Regions from separate parts of the Homo sapiens genome. Here region 1 is linked to region 2. Evidence: promoter capture Hi-C in 16 types of primary human blood cells and fetal thymus (Javierre and others, 2016). All regions are on one chromosome and are shown on one strand. Each heading gives the region's core, a stretch centred on a gene start or on the middle of the fragment in contact. The rest is flanking DNA. Distances are from core to core; before and after follow the strand shown. Region 1 holds the start of MAP4K5 (mitogen-activated protein kinase kinase kinase kinase 5). Region 2 holds the start of RPS29 (ribosomal protein S29).

The links. The method cuts DNA at HindIII sites, captures the fragments that hold promoters and counts their contacts. A CHiCAGO score of 5 or more calls a contact.
Region 1: a contact is called between the fragment with the promoter of MAP4K5 here and the fragment with the promoter of RPS29 in region 2, in 1 of 17 cell types (fetal thymus). The highest score is 7.3, in fetal thymus.

Annotation. Positions count from the first base shown.
Region 1 is chr14:50,531,319-50,536,571 of GRCh38, reverse strand. MAP4K5 (mitogen-activated protein kinase kinase kinase kinase 5) reads left to right here and starts at 4,003. Exons shown (of 33, transcript NM_006575.6): 1 at 4,003-4,124; 2 at 4,414-4,630. The coding sequence starts at 4,523. It also overlaps a transcript of ATL1 not described here. RefSeq lists a silencer at 3,680-4,309. The HindIII fragment of the contact is 11,447 bases long and covers 1-5,253 here.
Region 2 is chr14:49,584,350-49,589,318 of GRCh38, reverse strand. RPS29 (ribosomal protein S29) reads left to right here and starts at 2,939. Exons shown (of 3, transcript NM_001032.5): 1 at 2,939-3,034; 2 at 3,270-3,369. The coding sequence starts at 2,973. It also overlaps RN7SL1. RefSeq lists enhancers at 2,379-2,888, 2,761-3,260, 3,859-3,908, 4,935-4,969. The HindIII fragment of the contact is 6,928 bases long and covers 1,903-4,969 here.

The DNA of each region.
Region 1 (5,253 bases), core at 2,754-5,253, 950 kb before region 2:
CTGTCTTCTTCTGAGCTCTCCAAACTCTTCCAACCTCTGCCTGTTACCCAGTTCCAAAGTTGCTTCCATATTTTCAGGTAACTTTTCAGCAACATCTCACTCTACTGGTAACAATTTTTTTTTTTTTTTTTTTTTGAGACAGAGTTTTGCTCTTGTTGCCCAGGCTGGAGTGCAATGGTGCAATCTTGGCTCACCACAACCTCTACTTCCTGGGTTCAAGCGATTCTCCTGCCTCAGCCTCCCAAGTAGCTGGGATTACAGGCATGTACCACCATGCCTGGCTAATTTTGTAGTTTTAGCAGAGATGGGGTTTTGGTCAGGCTGGTCTCAAACTCCCGACCTCAGATGATCCGCCCACCTTGGCCTCCCAAAGTGCTGGGATTACAGGCATGGGCCATGGCGCCAGACCTCAATTTAATGTATTAGTCTGTTTTCATGCTGCTGATAAAGACAAACCTGAGACCGGGCAATCTACAAAAGAAAGAGGTTTAATTGGACTTACAGTTCCATGTGGCTGCGAAGCCTCACAATCATGGCAGAGGGCAAGGAAGAGCAAGTCATGTCTCACACGATGGCAGCAGGCAAAGAGAGGGAGCTTGTGCAGGGGAACTCCTCTTTTTAAAACCATCAGGTCTCGTGAGAGTTATTCACTATCATGAAAACAGCATGGGAAAGACTTGCCCTCATGATTCATTACCTCCTACCTGGTCCCTCCCACAACACGTGGGAATTCAAGATGAGATTTGGGTGGGGACACAGACAAACCATATCAGTAACATATCTGATGATCAATTCAAACTGGATGAAAGGGATATCGACTGCCTTCCTCACCTCTCCTTTTTAAAACTCTCATCCTAATGACCTGATACTAATCCTGAATGAGATACATGTTCTATTGCCATCCAGAACAAATTATATAAAAATTGCCCTATATTTGGAAAACATGGTTTATGCCTCAAAAGACAAGTGGCCCTAATTAGTAAAACAATAGTTTAATAATAATTATTTAAAAATCCAAATCATAATTGTGGCAATGTCTTCCAACATTTAATTGATTTCTGTTTAACAGATCTATAGAGCAGTCAACTGAATCATAGAGTTACATGTTGAAATTAGTTTATGTTGGCAGATTAATCAGGAGATTACCAGATTGCTTAAATCTGTATGTTCAATAGACTAAAGTTATTGTCCTTATGCTCTGTCCTTTCACACTTGAAGGTTTAATTAGCCATTTTGTCTTGGATAATAAATTGTGAACCTTAGCTTTATATAAGATAAAGCATTTTATGTCTCCCAATTCTTTTTTATTCAGCCTTGGCTAAAGTTAGAGCTGAAATTAGAGGCCACAGATTACAGTCAGCATTTTACTGAAGAACTTTCAAAGAAGGGAAGTACATTACAAAGCATGTGGCAAACCATTATCGTATATTATAATGATAAGGGTAAAAGCTGAAAAATATTTATGTGTCAGCATGAAGATACTAAGAATGCATGACAATTAGGTTGGAATGAAGGACCTATCAAGCCATATTTATTCTTATTCCATACCTTGTCATATGAAACTGGGTGGTTTGTAAGAAACTCTCTGGTCAGTTACCATGACATAACTAACATATTATTACATAAACTTCAACCTTGAAATTGTTTGCTTAATTGTCTAGGATGTAAAATTAAATTTACTCAGTGTACATTTAAGTAAATTGAATTTGCATTTCTTTACAAAGCAACCCACTTCACTGATCTTGTTAAAATTAACTCAACCAGTATTTTAAAAATCCTTAAGATTCTTTTGGAGTTAGTATAAAACAAATGTTTTCCTCTTTGCATGAATTGCAGTACAAGTAAAATAATGATTATAGCAGACACATAGAGTCTCGACTTTTTAACCACCACATAGAGTCTTGACTTTTTCCATGCTATCTGCCTCTAGGTTGATGGTCAAAGCATATGGATCTGCCATTACTGGCAACATAAAATATCCGCACTCCAGGGTCTTGTTGAAGCCTATGACCTCAAACATTTCACTGCCTAATTCATTTTAAATGCTGTATTTCAAGAATAACATGCTTAAAGGATTGTCAGGATATTTGTCCTCGTCTCAAACTGGGCATTCAGTTTCTACTTTATGAAGAAGGCTCATTAAATAAAATTTTTGGAAGTCTTTGCATTAGGAAAATATATGCCTCTTCTTGATCAATTGGTTACTCTTGATCTCAAAAACACTATAAAATCCTCTGGTTGGCCGATTTGTCACACTGTTCTGGTTTCGTATTTTCCTTCTCTTTAACGTCATACTAGTTTGCCCACTTATTTTTATCTTGTTTTATAGTAAGTGTTTTCTGTGTGCTGCCTGAAATTCCCTGGAGTAACGCAAGTGTAAACATGTAAGAATAAATATATTTCAGACTAGATAAAGGATCAGTGCTTATATGGCCAGAGGAAAAAAATCTCAAATGAATCTATGACAGTAAACAAGTGCTAAGATACCAATAGAACATTTGAAGAGATTTTGAGTCATCGAAGCCAAAAGTATGTGCCCACCAAAACAAGTGCCAAGAATCTTTGAAAGAAGGAACTGTTCTTCAACAATTTTTTCAATGCAGCAAACACATAGGCTTTGTCCATGGAGCATGTAAGTCTGGGCTTACTTATGTTCCCCAAATAAGTGCCCTTTGTGTGTGGAGCACAAGAAAATACATATATGCCCTGTCCTGTTAAGGTGCGAATTTAATTTCTACATTATACAATTATCAACAATAAGGAGTATTGTCAATTACTCCTTATTATACATTATACAATTATCAACAATAAGGAGTATTTTAATTCTCAAGAGCAGAATTAAAAATTGGATGTTCAAAGCCACAAGCCAACATCTCCAACTTGCTCTTTTATGATGTTTCAGTCACTAAATGCAGTGGCTGAGTGTTATCTGGCTTTTCTGTTCAAATTCTCTATGAGGCTCTAGAAATAACTTAGCCAGTATAATGTAACACTGGCAACTTAATTTCTACCTTCAGAGCAAGACTGGAACTGAAACTGCAAAACAGCTTGTGAAATATCAGCCAAATTACTTCCCCGAACTCCTGTTCCATATATGCTGTGCATTGTTAAGTATTTTAAGACCTCTTATATTCGATAACCCCCCTTACTATCCTGTAAAACGCTTTATAAACACTTTCCTGGGTGTCAGATGCAAAATCTTACCCTCTTCAAGCTGCAGATAAGGACACCGAGATGTTGCCAAATATGCTGTTTTGTCCCAGAGCACATACTGAGGAAGTGGTAGAACCAGAACCAGTCTGTGACCCCTTTGTTTTACTTTTGCGGAACTCCTGGTCTCATTAAAGGTGCAATACCAGCGATGAGACACTGCGTGTGCCCAACAGGGACAAAGGTCATTGAGCAGTCCTAGGAATTCAGACTTTCAGAAATGTCTCAGAAGAACTAAGTAGAAGGCAGGTTGTGCAGGTGTGCAGTGCAGCCTCAAACTGGTACCACCGGGATCGGTTTGCAAAACAGGAAGGTGCAGTAGGGTGTGCCGGGACTTAGTTAACCTGGCACTCCCCCACCTCCTTCCCCGGCGCCCCGCTGCCAGGTTACTTCTGGCCCGGTGCCCTTAACGTACCTTTTCCGTGTTTAACTTGGAGGGCTACGTTCCCATCGCCCTTCTTCCTCTACCCGTCACCCTACAGGCCTACCTGACAAATGTGGGGACGGTTTAGCCAAGGCCCGTTGGCCCACGAATGCCCAGGCGTGTGCCTTATTTCTGAGAGTGGGAGGGAGACAGCCCAGGCCCTGCAAGGACGCGCCCGGCTAGGGGGGCGCGGTGGCGCGGTCGGGAGGGTGTTGTGTTCTCAGCAGGCCTCAGGGCGGCACTCTGGTTCTGCGGCCGGAGTGCTCGGGCGGGCCGCTGGGCGCCGACCCATGCTGGCTGGGAACGTGTCTCCCGGTGACGCAGCCCCGGGTGGGGAACGTGGTGCGGCGGCGGCGGCGGCGGCGACTGTACGCGCCTCCGCCGCCCCCGAGAGGACGCGCCGTGCAGCGGCTGAGTGGCGGCGGCGGCGACGGCAAACCCGGAGCTGCCGGCCGGCGCGCGGGAGGAGGACGCGGGTGCGGTCTAGGAAGTAGGTCCCGGGCTCCGCGCTCAACAAAGACGGGGCCGCCCCCATTAGGTACGGAGCCGGCCCTGGGCCCCGGCTGGCGGGGAGGCCTCGTCGGGCAGTTCGCGGGCGGCCGGGGAGGGGGAAGGGCCGCAGACCGAACGGGGATACGGGGCGCCGGGGGCCCTTCCAGGCCCCTTTCTCTTCCACGGCCCCTGGCGGGACGGAAGGGAAGGGGCCGGGCCGCGAGGGCGCGGGCCGCTGGGGGTCGTAGCCTGCGACGCCAACCAGCCTTTGCTCGTCCCTCGTGCAGACGGAGCTGCGGGCGGAGGCTCCATGTTGGGAAGCGGCGCCGTTCGTGCTTGTTAGCGGGAATCCGGGAGCCGCGGGGTGAGCTGGCGGGGGCCGGGCCCTAAGTGAAGATGGAGGCCCCGCTGCGGCCTGCCGCGGACATCCTGAGGCGGAACCCGCAGCAGGACTACGAACTCGTCCAGAGGGTCGGCAGCGGCACCTACGGGGACGTCTATAAGGTAAGTGAGGCTGGCCGTGCTTTTTTCCTGCGGTCGACTGGGTCCCGGGAATGGGGCCACTTTCCTGCGAAGTATTGGGGCGAGAGGAGGATGCTTTTATTGTTGCCTCTTGGGGAGAAAGCGGCCGGGGTCCCTTTTACTCGGTTCTGAGCACCCTCGACTCATGGCTTGTTCTAATCGCTACCAACAGGCAGAACTAACCACACAGTTGCAAACCGCTGTTGCACTTTTTTTGTGGTTTAAAGGCTTTTTAATAGGGCTTATTTATGGTATTGAAGGGAATTTGAATCTGCTTGTGGAATTACACCGAAGGATGCTCTAGTGTTAGCATGGAAAAATGCTTCATGGAAGATAGACAGGAAAGAATATTGACATTCAGACATTTGCATTTTTTTAAAAAAATTTGTTTCAATGGATGAGTTTGACTAAAAAAGCCATATGAAACCCTGTCTCTGAGCTTTAACTGTAAGCAAACTAATATTGGTGACATTTATGCAAGCATTATCCCATATAAAAAGATGCTTTTCCTGGTGGAAGTTTGATCGTTTGTTTTTGGTTGGCGATAAAAATGTGATATTAACTTGCTGGGTTTTGTTTTACTTTAGCGGTTCCTTTCAGGGATT
Region 2 (4,969 bases), core at 1,690-4,189:
TTTTTTTTTCTTTTTCTTTGCACTTCATTGTACATTTTTTAAAAAACAAAGAACCCAAACCCAATAAATATCCTATTAAAGGAAAATGTGTTCTAAAAGAAGAAGCATTTCAAACCCATGTATAAAAGAGAACTAAGATGGCTCACGCCTGTAATCCCAGCACTTTGGGAGGTCGAGGCGGGCGGATCATGAGGTCAGGAGATCGAGACCATCCTGGCTAACAGGGTGAAACCCTGTCTCTACTAAAAATACAAAAAGAAATTAGCCGGGCATGGTGGCGGGCGCTGTAGTCCCAGCTACTCGGGAGGCTGAGGCAGGAGAATGGCGTGAACCCGGGAGGCGGAGCTTGCAGTGGGCCGAGATCGCACCACTACACTCCAGCCTGGGTCACAGAGCGAGACTCCAGACTCCGTCTCAAAAAAAAAAAAAAAAAAAAAAAAAAGGACTCAGAAACTGTAAGAAGACTACAGGATTAAGATAAAAGCTCTTAGGCCGGGCGTGGTGGCTCACTCCTGTAATCCCAGCAGTTTGGGAGGCTGAGGTGGGTGGATTACTCGAGGTCAGGACTTCGAGACCAGCCTAGCCAACATGGTGAAACCCCATCTCTACCAAAAATGTAAAAAATTAGACGGGTGTGGTGGCACGTGCCTGTAATTTCAGCAACTCGGGAGGCTGAGGCAGGAGAATCCCTTGAACCCAGGAGGTGCAGGTTGCAGTTAGCCAAGATGGTGCCATTGCACTCCAGCCTGGGCGACAGAGTGAGACTCCGTCTCAAAAAAAAAGGAAAAAAAACAAAACAAAACATAAAAGCTCTTGATAAACACCGAGTTAAAATGAACTTTTAAAGCTGTGTTCTCAGTTTGTTGAAAAAGAAATGGATAATTTCATGGTTTGGGATAGATGGTGTCACATTATCTTAAAACTGAAAGGAAGTACGACGTCTTAGCTGCACTTTTGCAATATCTCTATCAAAGAGAATAATGTATAGACTAGAATAAGTATTAAGAATTACTTAAGTATTCAGATTAAGATTGTTGAAGTGCAACTAATTGCTTCTCATTTGTCTTTTTTTCTCTCCTAAATGAATTCACTTCTTTAGGCCCAAAGGCTTATATATCAGAGTACTAAAAATATTAATGGAATTGATCTCAGAACCACTGTAATGTTTTAAATATTGTGGAGACCAACTAGAAGAGGCCTAAGAAAGTGTGGACAAATGTTAGATTAGCTTTTGAGAGGCAAATGGCTTTTGGAAACCACACATTAGTGACTGATATAAATTATAGGAAAGTTGTAAAAGCTTGACATTGGATCTTGCCCAATGAGGCTTTAAAATAAAATACCTTTTCATTCCTATCACTAGGCCTTTTGTCCATCTTCTATTCTAGTTACACAAAGTTGTTCACCTTACCTTGGCTCAAGCGCTTCCTTTCACCAGGCATTCCCTTCTGTCAAGTGCTGCCTGTAGAAATCCCATTCTTCAAGGTCTACCTCAAAGGTCTCTCAAATGTACCTCGAACTGGAATTAATTTCTCTTCTTGGCTCCTTTCGTACTTCATGAGCACACCCATGATTTAATACAGAATATTTTCCTTAGCTGTACATATGTTGTTGGTGCACAAACGTTGTATGTTGAAGTCTTGGAGATAATCCTGTTTCCCACAGATTAGAAAATTTTGAGGGCAAGGAGCAAGTTATATCTAGTTTACAAATCTCTGACTCCCCTCCTTCCTTAATCATATAATACAATGCCTAACTTAATGATTGGGTAGGGGGACCCCACTAGAACCCTGACATAACATACCTTAAAGAAGTGTTGTATTTCAATTTATAAAAGTTTATATGTAAAAGTTTCTGGAATTGTTGCACCCTGTGCTACATTTTATAAATCTAGTTAAAGCTTTGATTTCAGAGCAGTTTTATCTGGAGGCATTATAAATGACCATATGGAATGTAGGTATCTTTCAGCAGAAATTCGTTTATTGACATTGGTTTTTTGCATTTTTGCATTTGCTTTTCATTACTTGTTTTGTCACCAAATTATCTGGTCAAAGCAACATACACTGCACATTACTTGTTTATTACTTTACATTCAGCCAATTACATTTAAGAATCAAATACACTAAATGCCAAAGAATCTCATTTTTTTTTGGAATGGTGTAGGTGTATTTCTTGGAGGAGTGTGTCAAAAAAATAAATTTGAAAACGTACTCTCTTTAACAAAATAAAAGCAAACCCTACCGTTGACTCGTGATCATTACAGCTGATTTTAAGTTGTTTTGTAAATTTATTCCAGTAGGTGTCACTGGTGAGTCGAGGAAAAACTCCTTTCCCAAGTGTAACGTTTTAATTAAAAGAAAGTAAAAGGTTTAATCAATAAAAAAGACTATGAGAATATTCATCTCTTGAGAGTCCAAAATTAACGTATTTATTGTTCAAAAGAGACGGGGTCTCGCTATGTTGCCCAGGCTGGAGTGCAGTGGCTATTCACAGGCGCGATCCCACTACTGATCAGCACGGGAGTTTTGACCTGCTCCGTTTCCGACCTGGGCCGGTTCACCCCTCCTTAGGCAACCTGGTGGTCCCCCGCTCCCGGGAGGTCACCATATTGATGCCGAACTTAGTGCGGACACCCGATCGGCATAGCGCACTACAGCCCAGAACTCCTGGACTCAAGCGATCCTCCAGCCTCAGCCTCCCGAGTAGCTGGGACTACAGGCACGCGCCACCGCGCCCGGCGGTCGGATACCGGCGCAGAATAGCACTAGAAGCTGTGGTATGGTGACGTCATCAACTGGGCCAGCCCACAACGCCTCTAAGATTTCATTTTACTCACCCAGCGAAACAACCTGACCACACTGCGCACGCGTTTCCTTTGAGCACTGCATTCTGGGTAAACTGTCTCAAAAATTTGAAGAGCGCATGCGTGGGCCAGCTTCTTCCTTTTACCTCGTTGCACTGCTGAGAGCAAGATGGGTCACCAGCAGCTGTACTGGAGCCACCCGCGAAAATTCGGCCAGGGTTCTCGCTCTTGGTGAGAAATAGTTTGTGATTTTGGGGAAGCGTTGCCGTGGAGCGCTAGGCTGCTTAAAATCTCAAGTAGAGGAGGCCACGGGCGGCACGAGGGAGCACGCCGACTGGGAGTCGCTGGTGCCGCCATTACAGGCCTGTACTGTGGCTTGGGAGTCCCGGGATGCGGGTAGTAGCCGTCTGAGTGCGGAGTCTTGTAATTTCTATGACCTGCAAAACCGCTGTCTCTTTTCTTACAGTCGTGTCTGTTCAAACCGGCACGGTCTGATCCGGAAATATGGCCTCAATATGTGCCGCCAGTGTTTCCGTCAGTACGCGAAGGATATCGGTTTCATTAAGGTAGGCGTCTGCAGGCGTACTCCATGTTGTTTGGGCAGAGAAGGTTGTGGGGGTTATTTTTTCCGCGAAAGACAAACGGACAGATCTTCCCTGGAGTGGTAATTCTGAGCATTCGACCAAGAGCTTTTCCTCTTTTTTTAGTTGGTAGCTGGTGACAGTGTTGATGGTTTGGGCAATCAAATTAATAGAATGGAGAAGGTGAAGGACTTAGTCTTTCCTACTCCCTTTTTTACCTAGATAGCTTAGCCAGTTTTAGGTGCCGTGTATTGTGTTTGGTGAAATTCACTTTAGAGAAGCCACTAAAATTGTTTTACATTTGTTTCATTTATCAATCTTGTAAGTACCTATTCTCTTTTTTTTTTTTTTAGAGATAGGGTCTCCCTCTGTCGCCCAGGTTGAAGTGCAGTGGCGTTGTTACGGCTCACTGCAGCCTCGAACTCCTCCTGGTCTCAGGCGATCCTCTTGCCTTGGCGTCCCGAGTAGCTGGGACTAAAGGCTCTTGCCACCACGCGCGGCTGTACCTAGATATTTTCTAACCAAATATATGTATTAACCGCTGACCCCAAGTTTTTTTTTTTTTTTTTTTGAGTCGGAGTCGCACTCACCCAACCTGGAGTGCGATGGCGTGATCTCCGCTCAGTGCAACCTCCGCCTCCCCGGTTCAAGCGATTCTCCTGCCTCAGCCTCCTGAATAGCTGGGATTACAGGCGCCTGCCACCATGTCCGGCTAATTTTTTTATTTTTAGTAGAGACGGGGTTTTACCATGTTGGTCAGGCTGGTCTCGAACTGCTGACCTCGTGATCCGCCTGCTTCGGCCTCCCAAAGTGCTGAGATTACAGGCGTGAGCCACCGCGCCCGGCCAACCCAAAATGTTTGAAAGCGTCATACACTGGAATGAACTTAAAGTTTGGGGCCGGAAAGACATTGTTAAGATTCAGCAAACAATGGTCTGCCATTTAGTGCTTCTATCTCTTGATCATCTTAGTCAAGCTAGTGTTTATATGAAACTTTTGACTGTGAAACTTTTGGCTTCTGAAAATCTTTTAAATAGTAGTTTGGGTTTTTTTTTTTAAGGTGAAAACGAATTTATTATTGGCTCTTTGAGATAAAAATCACCAGCTTTCTGATCAATTATTTTGTATTGGATAGTACTGTTCTATAATGATGTAAATTTTTTTTTTTGTTTTGAAATTGGGTCTCCCTCTGTTTCCCAGGCTGGAGTGCAGTGGCGTGATCTCAGCTCACTAGCCTCCCCCTCCCGGATTCAAGCGATTCTCCTGTCTCAGCCTCCCTAGTACCTGGGATTACAGGCGTCTGCCACCACGCCCGGCCTATTTTTATTATTTTGTGGAGATGGGATTTCACCATGTTGGCCAAGCTGGTCTTGAGGTCCTGACCTCAGGAGATGGGCCTGCCTTGACCCCTCAGAGTGCTGGGATTACAGGCGTGATCCACGGCGCCCTGTCTGTTGTAAATTGTTAATATGAATACTGCAGTGCAGCAGGGACAGAGAAAGTACGTTTAAACTCAGGCTTGGCAGCCCTGAGCAAATACTTCATCAGTATATGCTTCTTGTTAAAATGAGGAGGTTCGCCTAAT